2 separate regions of the Homo sapiens genome follow, and region 2 is linked to region 1. Evidence: promoter capture Hi-C in 16 types of primary human blood cells and fetal thymus (Javierre and others, 2016). All regions are on one chromosome and are shown on one strand. The core of a region is centred on a gene start or on the middle of the fragment in contact, and the rest is flanking DNA. Distances in the headings are between cores, read along the strand shown. Region 1 holds the start of ZNF639 (zinc finger protein 639). Region 2 overlaps LINC01014 (long intergenic non-protein coding RNA 1014).

The links. Contacts are between HindIII fragments. The CHiCAGO score rates a contact against its expected background, and 5 or more counts as called.
Region 2: a fragment that was not itself captured here is called in contact with the fragment with the promoter of ZNF639 in region 1 in 1 of 17 cell types (endothelial precursors); the score reaches 6.0 in endothelial precursors.

The regions. Positions count from the first base shown.
Region 1 is chr3:179,319,559-179,326,608 of GRCh38, forward strand. It overlaps ZNF639 (zinc finger protein 639), which reads left to right and starts at 3,473. Exons shown (of 6, transcript NM_001303426.2): 1 at 3,473-3,733. RefSeq lists silencers at 3,203-3,642, 3,673-3,812 and enhancers at 4,383-4,432, 5,474-5,573. The HindIII fragment of the contact is 4,241 bases long and covers 328-4,568 here.
Region 2 is chr3:178,448,049-178,454,642 of GRCh38, forward strand. The region is part of intron 1 of LINC01014 (long intergenic non-protein coding RNA 1014); the gene reads left to right. Among named protein-coding and RNA genes, the nearest start is that of LINC01014, 32 kb to the left of the region's middle. The HindIII fragment of the contact is 1,067 bases long and covers 2,157-3,223 here.

The DNA.
Region 1 (7,050 bases), core at 2,223-4,722:
ATCCCAGCACTTTGCTGAGGCCGAAGTGGGTGGATCACTTGAGGTCAGGAGTTTGAGACCAGACTGGCCAACATGGTGAAATCTCGTCTCTACTAAAAATACAAAAATTAGCCAGGCATCGTGGTGCGCACCTGTAGTCCCAGCTACTTGGGAAGCTGAGTCACGAGAATCGCTTGAACCCAGAAGGAGGAGGTTGCAGAGAGCCGAGATCATACCACTGCACTTCAGCCTGGGCGATAGAGTGAGATTCTGTCTCAAAATAAATAATACAAAATTAAGCACGTGGTCCTGGAAGAGGTTCATGCAATTGAAGGGACTTGAAATTTAAGCTTCAGTAACTTCACAGTAACTCCATCTCTGGGGAGAAGTGGACAAATGTACTAACTACTGTGGAATCTCTAAAGATTGGTCAGAGATTTCGGCAAGGGAAAATCAAGGTTTCATAGAAGAGATCAACTGTGAGCTTCATCTTACAGAAACAAAGGAAACAAATTGCAGGTGGAAGAAACGTGCTAGATCACACAAGTGAGAAAAAGGCAGAGCGTATCTGTGGAATAGTGAGAAATACTATATGGTTAGTGTGGGGTTGGGTGAGGAAAGACTTAGGATAGTGGTTCTCCAGACGTGATCACAGGCCAGCAGCATGGACTTCGAAAGGAAATTTGTTAGAACTGCAGCTACTCAGGCCCTAGTCCAGATTTACCCAGTTCTCTTCATCCCATATCCCAAAATAAATTGTAGACAAACGAAAAAGTTAAAGCAAAAAATGCAACCAGATCCTGCATAGAAGAAAAGATTATCTCAGCAAAAGGCCAAAAATAGAACTTGCAAAGGAAAAGATTAATAGACTTGCTTTCACTACAATTTAAAATGTTTGCACCACTAACAAAATTAAAAAACAACAAACTGCAATTACGCCTGTAATCCCAGTACTTTCGGAGGCCGAGGTGGGCGGATCACCTGAGGTCAGGAGTTTGAGACCAGCCTGGCCAACATGGTGAAACCCGTCTCTACTAAAAATACAAAAATTAGCCCCGTGTGGTGCCACGCGCCTGTAATCCCAGCTACTCGGAGGATGAGGCAGGAGAATCGCTTGAATCTGGGAGGCGGAGGTTGCAGTGAGCCAAGATCACGTCATTGCACTCCAGCCTGGGCGAAAGAGCAAGACTCTGTCTCAAAAACACACAAACAAACAAACAAAAAACATAAAGAATGCTCGTGCTATACTAATTGGAAAAAAGAACCTGTTAGAAAAAAACACAGCCAATATTCTAATTTTGAAAACAAATTTTTATGTCAGTATAGGTATAAAAATAACGGAAAGATAGAAAGCAAAATGTTACCATTGATGAGCTCAGGGTTGTGAGATTATGGTAAATTTACTTTTGCTCTTTGTACTTTTCTGTTGTCTCCATTCTGTACTAAAAACGTAACTATTTTCTAATCAGGAAGAAATTAAGTGGCCGGGCGCGGTGACTCGCGCCTGTAATCCCAGCACTTTAGGAGGCCAAGGCGGGCGGATCACTTGATGCCAGAAGCTCAAGACCAGCCTGGCCAATATGGTGAAATCTCAGCACCACTAAATATACAAAAATTAGCCAGGTGTGGCAGCTCGCGCCTGTAATCTCAGCTAATCTGAAGGGTGGGGCACGAGAATTGCTTGAATTTAGGAGGTGGAGATTGCAGTGAGCCGATATCCCATCTCTGTACTGGAGCCTGGGCGACAGAGTGAGACCGTGAGAAAGAAAAAAGAAAAAAAAGAAAAGGAAGGAAGGAAAGGAAGGAGAAATTAAGCTATTCTACAAGTGTGTGAAAAAGTTGGAAGAACGATGTTTTAATAGCCCTGAATCAAATTTATAATAGTATTTAACAAACTCTACAATTTAGCACTCTTGAGATTTTAGGGTTTTATCCCAGCTATCACCCTCCCTTGGAGCGGGAGATGAGGAAAAGAGGGACCCAAAAATGAAACTGAAAAACACTCCAGCTAATCAAGAACTTGAAATTGCTTGCAATTTGTGACTATGTTAAACAACATCTAAACAAAGTCAAGCTCCTCTAAGTGCAAACAATACGTGGGATGCTGGGGAGAGTGTGCGTTTACTTTCACTACAAAATGTTTTGGAGTAAAACTTCATTTTGAAATATAAAGATTTTGTTGGACACAAGGCTATGTGGTAAGGCAAAATGGTAAGATGGTGGCATGACACCCCCTTGTGGTTTCCACCGATTCCCGGTTCTGTGCTAGATACTAACTATTCTAGGATTTAAAAATGTCTCTACATTTCTTCGAACTTTAATTCGGGCCATACTAGCATTCGTGAGCATTTATTTGAGCTGAGTACGCACATAAAACTTAGGAGGTCATAAAAACTGAGCCTCACAAACAAGTAGTGTCTCTTTCAAATATAGCTTTATCTCCTGGGGGATGGTGAAGGGATCAGAGTAAAGTCTGTGATTATTACTTTCCAGCGATTGATTGGTTGATTGGCATGTGGTTGTCAGAAAAAGCAGTGGACGTGAACAAAGAGACATCATTGCAGCCCTAACTATCCGAGTGACCTTGGGTACCTGATAATCCACATGGCTCTCAGTCATCCTCTTAACCGTTTGAACCTCAGGGGTTTAGGCTACCAAAATGAATTAAGACCCAGTCTTTAGCTTCTCACACATTTACTTTTCCATTTTGTAAAATGTGACTAAAAACCTCAACTCATTGTCAAAAGGACTGAATTAAACATATCACCACACTTGCACAGAGATCATTTATGGAACCATGTTCACAAATTTATTTATGCTCGTGTAATTTAATCATTTCTACAGCTGCTCAAAGAAAGTCAAAGTCGAGAAAGGACTTAAATCGTCGAGTCCAGTCCCCCTTAACTCCTCATTCATTCCACTATTTCTCGAGCCAAGGAATCGGGTGAAACTCAACAACGACTCGCAGTCTTCAGGTTTCACCCTCTTGCCCTGAGGGCAGCATCCTAGCCCTAGGTGGTTCTCTGGTGTGGCCTCAGTAAAACCGTGACGAGGTCCTCGGCCTCTCTGTCCCCAACAGGCGGCTGGCACACTTCGGGGTCTGAGATGCCATCTGCCTTGCCTAACCTGGGCAAGACCACTCGCGTCCTTTCCCTTGAGGAGCAGCGTGGGAAAGGTGCCGCTGCGCGCCACGTTTCTCCCAGTTCCCCAGGGCTTGAAGGGGCGGTGGAGGCGGGCGGGATAAATTCGCTGGCCGCCTGGCGTGGAGTAATCCTAGAGGGTGGGATCGCCCTCGGGGCTCGGGAGGGGCTCTTCCCCGCCCAGAAGGAGACTGCGGCGGCGCAAGGCCTCCGGCAGGGGGCGCGGGCCGCTGGGCCTCCCCCGGGGCTGCGGGCCGGTGGTCCCTCCCAGGCCGCGTGTGCGGTGCGTTCGCGCAGCCCGCTCCCTGCCCCCACCTCACCTCGTCACCTCCCCGCCCTCTCGGCGGGCCCCTGAGGTGCGCGGCGCAGGCGCGGAGCGTGGCGGCCAGGGCAGTGCGGCCGCGGAGCCTAGGCCAGGGGCCTGGCGCTCAGGGCGTGGGGCGCGCGGGGAGGGAGAGGGGTCGGCCCAGCACAGCGTCCGGGAGCGCTAGGGCCGGAGCAGCGCTGCCCGCCGCCGTGCGTCCGCGGGAAGGACCGCGCGGCCCCTCCGCCTGCGCTCTCGGCCGCCGCCGCCTCTGCGTGGGCCGGCCGGGAGGGCCTCGGGGGACTGACTGGTGAGTGTGAGGGAGGAGCGGGTGGGTCGGGCGCTGGACTGCTCCAGGGGACGCGGGCGTGCGGGCGCATCTTCTAACGGGAGAGGGCGGGAGAGACCGGAGCTCCCTTTATACGGAAACTCTGCCTTCGTTATATGGCGGGATGGCGTTCCCCTCCCCCATCCCGAAGGCAGTTCCACCCCCTGCGCAGGACGCCTTGGCCGGGCTCCCCTCGGCCCCCTGCTGCCGTTGTCTTTACGGAACCTTTGGTGTCGGGGCTTGGAAGTCTCCTTGGCGCCGGCTTCTGGGCCCGGGCGAAGCTGGTGCGTGGCGCCGGGGTGGAGGCGGCTAAGTCCCAGGGACTTCTGCCCTGCGCCTCCGACGGGCATTTGTCTGGCTGCGTCCGGGCTCGGGACGATCCTGGGTCCTCGCTGGCGCTGCGGCCCTGCCCGGCGGCTTCGTGACCTCCGGCGGCGAATCCCCGGGCTCGCGCAACGAGTTGTAGCCGCGGAGAGCAGGCGTCGATGCTGGCGCCCAAAGCCTCCAGCCTGAGAGTCGCCTCACTCGTGTGACGGTGCTTAGAAACCCCCTTTTTTGGTTTTGTCTTTAAGTACTGTCTAGGGAAACGAATCATTTGAAGCAGTTTATGCCTTTTTTGTTTTTTTCGAAGAGAAAGATTTATGCCGGACTGAAAAATAGCGAATCAAGTATTTAGTGACCGTGTGATATTGCAGTAAAGACTGCCTCCACGTTGGACATGTAGTGGATTCTAGTTCAGGCTCTCCTGCAACATGTTTTTGTTTCAATTCTTTTACAATTTAAAGCATATGCTTATTTTAATGAGAACGAAAAAGAAAGCTTAACTCTTTTTAAACTCGTTAAAAATGGAGTTATTTACTGTAAAGACGTCTTACAGCAATTAGGAAGAATATACATTGCATGAAAGGCCTTTTGAAACGTTTATCTATTTGATGATTGCTGACTGCCTGTTGTATGTATTCTATTTTGTGCATAGACTTTCTTGTTGGTTGAAAAAAATGACAGGTGGAAAGATGTTGGTTTCTAGGTGATATAAAAAATTTTTAAACATTTTTCTGATTTTTCTGCAGTGACACGTGTTACATATGTCGTTTGTATTTCAGAGGGAGGGGGGACTGTGATAGGTTGCTTGTGATTCAGAATCTTCCTGCTAAGAAGACTAGTGAGCAAATGTTTATGACATCCTTGAGTAGAAAGCTAAGTTTTTTCAAGGCTGTTATGCACACAAAAGGCACATAAAAATGATTGCTAAAATGAAGGATGGTTAGCATTTTTGGTCTTGAGTAGGCATCACCATTGTGCTGAAAGGAAGTCCGATAGACATTTGGTTATCGTTCGGCCCTAAGTAGGAGTCAGACCCTTCCTGATCCGTGTGCCTCCTCCTCTCACCTAACAGCCTGAATCCAGGCCAGCTTGCAACGTTGATTTTAATACCACGCTTGGTTTCCTTTTCTTACTTTTATTCTTCAAGTTGCAAAGAACTTGAGATGCATTCTGAAATAACAAGAGACTACTTAACATGTTCGGCTGAGTGTTTTCAGTGTTCTCCCTGATACTTTTAGAGTATTTAGAACATGAAGTGTGAAGCTTTGGGCTATATGAATCGTAATAGCTCTTCTCTTTTTGATTTTTGAATGCAGTGAATTGAGATGGTTACTCAAGGAATGATTGTTTACATTGTTAGGTGAGGCGTTTGATTTTATTCTTTTTTCTTTCTTTCTTTCTTTTTTAGACAGAGTTTCACTCCTGTTACCCAGGCTGGAGGACAATGATGTGATCTCGGGTCACCACAACCTCCGCCTCCCGGATTCAAGCGATTCTCATGCCTCAGCCTCCCGAGTAGCTCAGATTACAGGCATGTGCCACCACGCCCGGCTAATTTTGTATTTTCAGTCGAGACGGGGTTTCCCCATGTTGGTCAGGCTAGTCTTGAATTCCCGACCTCAGGTGATCTGTTCGCCTCGGCCTCCCAAAGTGCTGGGATTACAGGCGTGAACCACTGCACCCGGCGAGGTGAGGTATTTTATATATTGGTATCATTTCTGTACATTTCATGGTTGTCTGTTTCTTTAGGCTATTCTGTTCCCCTTCTCCCAACTGGTAGCTAAGAACTGGAAGCAAGATGTGCATGCATTTTCATCTCTGGTTCTCCCACTTATTAGTTGACTTAACTTTCACTAAGGCTGTTTCCACATCAGTAAAAATGTAAATGGGTTTGATAGTAACTCCTCCATGTACCGCACAGGACCATTTTGAAGATGAAATAGAATAAGGGTTAGGAAAATGCTTAATAAACTGAAAAGGCCGGGCGCGGTGGCTCACGCCTGTAATCCCAGCACCTTGGGAGGCCGAGGCGGGCAGATCACGAGGTCAGGAGATCGAGAACATCCTGGCTAACACGGTGAAACCCCGTCTGTACTAAAAATACAAAAAATTAGCCGGGCGCCTGTTGTCCCAGCTACTTGGGAGGCTGAGGCAGGAGAATGGCATGAACCCGGGAGGCGGAGCTTGCAGTGAGCCAAGATAGCGCCACTGCACTCCAGCCTGGGCGAAAGAGCGAGACTCTGTCCGAAAAAAAAGTAAAAATAAAATAAACTGAAAAAGCACTATCTCATTCCCTGCTGTATTATATCACTTCAGTGCTGATATACCCAGAACTTAGTGAAGCAGCAAAAATAGTATGTGCACCTCAGCTAGAACACCTGTCATGTGTATCACCTTGGTGTTAAGAGCATTATAGGCCGGGCGCGGTGCCTCGTGCCTGTAATCCCAGCACTTTGGGAGGCTGAGGTGGGCGGATCACTTGAGGTCAGGAGTTCAAGACCAGCCTGGCTAACATAGTAAACCCCCGTCTCTACTAAAAATACAAAAATTAGCTGGGTGTGCTGGCGGGTACCTGTAATCCCAGCCTCCTGCTGGCGGGCGCCCGTAATCCCGGCCACTCAGGAGGCTGAAGCAGGAGAATCGCTTGAGCTGGGGAGGCAGAGGTTGCAATGAGCCAAGATCGTGCCACTGCACTCCAGCCTGGGTGACAGAGCAAGACTCCGTTTCAAATAAATAAATAGATTAATAAATAAAGTTGGGTAAACCTTTATTCAAATCCCAACCCCAGCATTTACTGAGTATCTAGCTTTGACTTTACTGTGCCTCAGTTTCCTCAATAACAGGAACTATAATTTTGAGAGGGTGATGTGAATTTTGCATCTCATACGATTACATAGGATTAAATGAGATAAAGTATGTTCACAGCCTGGTACATAATTGGTGGTCAGTAAATTATTATTATCACTTTTACTTTT
Region 2 (6,594 bases), core at 1,440-3,939, 870 kb before region 1:
AACATGGAAGAACCACTGATTCACTGTCCAGAATCACCTCATCAATAGCAAAAAGTGCTTCCACTTCTTTAACTGTTGCTCACAAGTATTGGCATCCTGCCTATAATTTCTTTCTTGAAGAAATTCTGTTCCATTAATTCTGAAATTCAGGCACTTCCATATACTCACTTAATCTTACACATCCATGCTAATAATGATTATTTACTTAAAAATGAGTTGATGGCTCTAAAGAATGACAGAGGGATCCAGCCATACCGTTTGTAGTAAGTATTCCAATCTTTGACTCAGTGGATTAATCACTACCAGAATGAAACACGATCTCACCCACAATACTGGATAAGGTATAACTAGCAATGATATAATGGTATTCCAGACTTTTGTATAAATTTATTCCATTTCCAGGTTTCTTATATGACTTACTTCCAAATCAGAAGATTATCTCTGCTCAGAATATAAAAGTTGATAGCTTCCCAAGAGAATAGAAACATCAAAGACAGAAAGCCTTACTTTGATCTGGATTCCTCAAGGGTAGGGAAGGGAGGATGAGTTCACCCAAGAATAAAACAAAACTTTACACCATGCAGCCCCCATCTGACTTGTAAAGAAATTTTTCTCTCAGGCCTCATTTATTCACTCTTTCATTCATTTGGCCAACATTTATCGAGCACCTACTATGTGCCAGGTACTAGGCCAACATCAGGAATTCAAAAGCAAATAAGCTATGTTCCTTCTCTCAAGGAGCTCATCATTAATCAGCCATGTTAGCAAATAATTACAGTGCTCCATTCAGGCTGATATCTACAGTAAATGCTTATGTAATTCATGAGCAGATCACACAGATCAACCTTCAACGCTTTCTGTATTTATTGAATTGGTATTAGTATCTCCGCATATCCCCTCAAAGACTCACAATTTCATACTTTGGATGATTCTTTCAATAATGCTTTGCCTTTGACTAAAATAATCAATACCTGACCACAAAGATGCCCAAAGTTATTAACCATGCAATTTCACATCTTTCAGGAATTTAATCCCACACTTGCTTCCTCCTCATACACATATACACACAAAGCATTTGTCTCACAGTGAGTTAATTCCTGAGTGCTTTTTCAGGCTCCCTTGGCCTATAGATACCATTCAATTAGAGTGACAGGCAGTGAGTCCACTTACCACCTGATACCCCAAAACACTTCAGGAACATCAGGTAGGTAACTCTTGACATCAGGAAGACTGACCATTAAACCAAATCCTAGCTATAGGACTGGAGTTTAGAGGCATGAATTTTCTACTTGTACAGATATTACAAGATCAAGAAAATAGTCACTATTATTGAGTCCTCATCATAAGCCAGGCACTGTGTGTTAAGTATTTAGCAGGTATTATTTCATCCTCACAAAAATGAGGTAGATACTGTGTATTAGCCCATTTTCATGCTACCAATAAAGACATACTCGAAACTGGGCAATTTACAAAAGAAAGAGGTTTAATCGGACTTACAGTTTCACATGGCTGGAGAGGCCTCACAAGCACGTTGGAGGGCAAGGAGGAGCAAGTCACATCTTATATGGATAGCTGCAGGCAAAGAGAGAGTTTGTGCAGAGCAACTCCCGTTTTTTAAAACTATCAGATCTCATGAGACCCATTGACTAGCACAAGAACAGTATAGGAAAGACCCACCCACATAATTCAGTCATCCCTCACTGCGTCCCTCCCACAACACATGGGAATTATGGGAGCTACAAGATGACATTTGGGTGGGGACACAGAGCCAAACCATACCATACTGCTATTATCCCCATTTTAGAGATAAAGCAATTGAGGTCAAATAACTTGCTGAAAGCTACATAACAGTAAGTGGTGAGGCCCTGATGGAAAGCCCAGCATGCTGACTTCAAAGCCCACTGATTAGGAGGACATAGTTAAAGAAACTGGAACCCAAGATCTTAGGGTGGCACTATTAGGACATCTGAATGCTGACTTTAACTTTTCATATTTCCTTTGAGGACAAAATTTTCCTTAGATTTTGATGAACACCAAGTGCCATGGCAAAAGTCCATTAACCACACAATTTTGTCTCATCTTAGTAGAGCCTGATTTGCACAGCCAACTGCTTCCAAATTTTACTGTTTCTGCTGTATCACAATGGCTGTTTATAAAGCTTTTCTCTGGTACAGATGTAAAAGACAGTAAGGAGTTCTGAAAGGATCAATAGGACTATAAAAAATAGATTCTCAAGTTTTACCATCTCTGTCTTATGAAGTTAGCCCTTTATTTATTTATTTATTTAGCTATGAGTGAGTACAATGCTGATTGCACCTGAAGAACATTTTATATTCTGTTTCAGAAACTTGTTAATACCTTGCTTATTAATTAGAAAATAGTGTGGGTGCCTTGTATTCGGGCTAGGAAAGAGACTCCCATTGCCCCGAGTCTCCACTAAAACAGAGCACAGAGCCAACCACCTTTAACATCCAAAAATGAGCCTCTTAGACATATCAAAGTAAGTCTAGCTGAGAGCTGTGTAGCAGACAGCCACAGGGCCCCATCATGATTAATGGTGTCAGTATGAAGTCCCATGTCTGTCATCTGGGTGCAATGTTTGTGATGATGGCATATTCCGCCTTTCAATTCTCACTTTCCTCTTAAGGAAGACTGCTCATTTTTATCCTCTGAGCATGTTCCTAACAAGACGGATGTACCATCACACGTTTAAGGAGGAAGAAAAAAGGGCAACTGCAGGAGTTCAAGTAAAAAATGAAAGCTGAATCATTCTCAGTAATATCCCAAATTTATATCCCTTAGTATCACAAACTGAATTACCTCTATAAACATTAGTTTAGAAAAACAACTTTTCACTTACAGCTGCATGGTAAAGAACCACATCACCTCCATACAGGAAGGATCTTATTTTCAATCTAATGTGCCAATGGCAGTTTCCAATAAGAAGAAGCAATTTGCCAGCCTTGCCAATTACAATTTGTCCTTGGCTGAAGATGACAGCAAAGTCTGTGCCTCTGGTTCATTGAAAACATCAGAAAGATATCCCTAATACTCAGTCTGTTTCTCTGTGAAGTTAAGCATTAAGGAGGTGATTAAAATTCAGCTTAATTTTGGTACCAAATCAAAGGAAAGACATTGCTATCTGATGGTAGGAGAGGGTTTCAAAACTATCCAAAGCAGCAATGACATGTATTTACATTCCAAGCCCTGTGGATGACATTGAAGCTTGGTGCCTCCAGTTTCACCCTCGCCAGGAAGTGGCTGTTCTGTATCCCATGGATATAGGGCTAAAGGAGGTATCGACACTTACTGCACACAGATTGATTTAAACATGCAGCTCTTGCCTCACTTAATACCTCTTTTATTAAAAGATGACCCTTGGCCATGAAAGAAAGGTCTGGGAAGAAATGGCTCTTATTGTGACACTGGTTTTCTGTGTAATGATCAGAAAATTATTTTCCCTCATTTTGCCCAAGCTATAATGTTAAGACACATCAGAGAGTTGATTTGTGAGGTTGCTATGATGACAGAATCACATGAAAAAGCAGATTGGAGATATCTGCTGTGTTAATAGGCTTTTAAAGATAAGTAAACCGATGACACCCAAACAATTATCCAAGAAAACACTTTTGAAGTTGGTCTGCCACTATTACATCAATGCAACACTGGATTATTAGTGTGAGGAAGTGGGAGACTTTGCTTGCTAATTAAAGGTAATACTTATGTCCTGACAATGATTTGATGCACAGGAAATTAAGCCTAAATTATCTCCTCTGGTTCAAGCATCAAATAAATGTTTTAGGGAGAGACATGATCTGGTGATTTATTTATTAATTCAATAACCCTTCATTGAATGTCAACTCCATGCCTGATTGGCTTCACTAGAGGCACAAAGGTGAGTAAAACTGGGCTCCTGCCTCAAAGGACTTGCAGAAGACTGAAGGGGGCACACCTGCTCCTCAGCCCTGGCCACTACACTTGCCCTCACTTGGAGGCTCACACTCTTCATGAGCTGCCTGCCCACTTTCCATGCTGATCTCTGTGGGAACACACTCTACTCCATTTTTACCTAATTAACTCCTACTTATCATTCAGATTTTAGCTCTGTGCCTGGCACATGGTATTTGCTCAATAATTATTATTGAATGAATGACTAAATGAACAAAACATCATAATACAATACAAGAAGTTCTCAGATACAGGAGGAAGCAAACAGCTCTTGGGCGCTGGGACCATGTTAAGGATATCAAGGAAGGCTTCACAAAGGGCATTTGAGCTCGTGGTATTTGAGATAGATTTTGAATGGAATTGAAGGGTAAATAAGGGCAACATGAAGAGAGGGTTACAAAGTGGTGAGAAAAAAGGAAAACTTATACTAAACAAAGGGAACATCATCTGCAAAGGCATGAAGGTATAAATGAGAATGAAGTGTTGGACAAACAGCAAGTTTAGGGTGACTAAAACATAGAGCACATTGAGAACAGTTTAAACTGGAAAGTATGTATGAACTCTATGTTGAAGGCCTTAGATGCCATAGTTAAAAGTACTGATTTTTTTCCTAAGGTGATGGGAAGTCTTTGAAGGCTTATACATAGGTGTATCTATTGAGATTCAGAGGCAAAGTAAGTGAAAAACAGTAACCACTCTAGCTTAAGGAGAAAAAGAAGAATTTATTAAAGAATATTAAGTAGTTCAGAGACACTCTGGCAGAGACTGTGAGTCCAGACTTAGAGACTCCAGCAAAGACCACTGAGCACATACTCTAGCGGTCACATCAAGACCCTGGGCACTAGGCAGCAAAACCTCCCCCAGTACTCTAAGAAAGCCATTCCTGTCACCCTCAACAGAAATGAATTCCACACAGCACCTCCTTCCTCCCATTGCTTTTTGTCTAATCATAGTCATGCTTATATTCTTCTGATTGGCCCAGGTCGTATGCCAGCACCATAGCTGCAAGGGAGACTGGAAAGTGAATTTCTAGCTTCTATCTAGGAAACCCTGATGTGAGAAATTCCAAGCACAGAAAAGGTATTTCAAAGAAGCTAAAAGGCTACAAATCATAGAAACTATCCACTGCCACATGGAAGATGCATAATCAAGTTGACATCATAAAAAGATTCATTTGGTAGCATTATTGAAAATGGATTGGAGAAGAGGAGAGTTGGGAGACAAGGGGATCAATTTAGAAGGTTAGAGCAGGCAAAAGACGAAAAGAACATAGACTTTAGTGCTGACTGTGGACACAGAAGAGTGAACACAGAACAAGGATATAAGATCTAGGAAGCAAGAACCTGGTCTGTCTTTTCACTTCTGGAACAACAGCACATAGCAGGTGTTCAATAATTTTTGCTTTTATTGTTAAAGAGTAATTTACATACAATAAAATTCACCTTGTTTGTGAATTTTGAAAATTGTATATCATAATGTAACCACTACCACCATCAAGATATAGAACAGTTCCATCACCCCCTAAATTTCTTCATGTTGCCCTTTCATAGTCAATCTCACAACTCCAGCCCCTGGCAACCACATACACACAGTATGTAACCTTTCGAGTCTGGCTTCTTTCATTTATCATAGTGTGTTTGAAGTTCATCCTTATTGTGGTTGTATCAGTACTGTGGTACATTTCTGTTTTTTCCTTAGTAATATTCCGTGGTACAAATATACCAGCATTTATCCAGGCCCCAGTGGAAAGATATTAGAGTTGTTTCTAGTTTGATGGAAAATAAATCATCCATATGTTTGTTCCAAAATAATTTTTATTTCATTTGGGCAAATACCTAAGAATAGAAGCACTGGGTCATATTATCAGCATATGATTAACTTAATAAGTCAATTATCAGCATATGATTAACTTAATAAGTTAATAAGTTACTGGAAACTGTTTTCCAAAAGCAATGTATTAGAGTTTAAGTTACTCTGCATCCTTTCATGTACTTGAGATTGTCATTTTTTAAAGTTATTCCAATAGGTATCCAGTAGTACCTCATTATGGTTTTAGTTTGCATAATAGGTATCCAGCAGTACCTCATTATGGTTTTAGTTTGCATAATAGGTATCCAGCAGTACCTCATTATGGTTTTAGTCTGCATTTCCCTGAAGACTAGTCATGTTAAACATCTTTTCATATTCTTATTTATATTTGATTGATCTTTTTTGATAAGATGTTCAAATATCTTGCCGTAACTGTTAAATAAATATTTGATGAATTTATAAGCAAACTTACACTAAAGATATTTAGAAAAATAAAGTTACCTCCACCTGAAATAATTGGACATTGCTAGGGAAAGGGAAAGGATGGAGTCGAGGAGCACACCACACTTTTAAGTGAATATTGATTAAGAGAGTTTAGCCAAAGGATTTAGAAAGCATAACCAAAGATGGCTGTTCCTGAGCCTAATTAATTATTACAATTCAATAGTTTGCACCCAAACCTAAAATGCATAGAACTGGATAGCTTACTAATGCTTCCTAGAAATTTTCTGCATTTGTAAAAACAGATAAACTTCAATTAGTTTTTACCTCCTTCTTCTAAAATAAATAAGTCTTGATAGCCAATCCCATATCATTCACCAGGAAATGCTAGCAGTG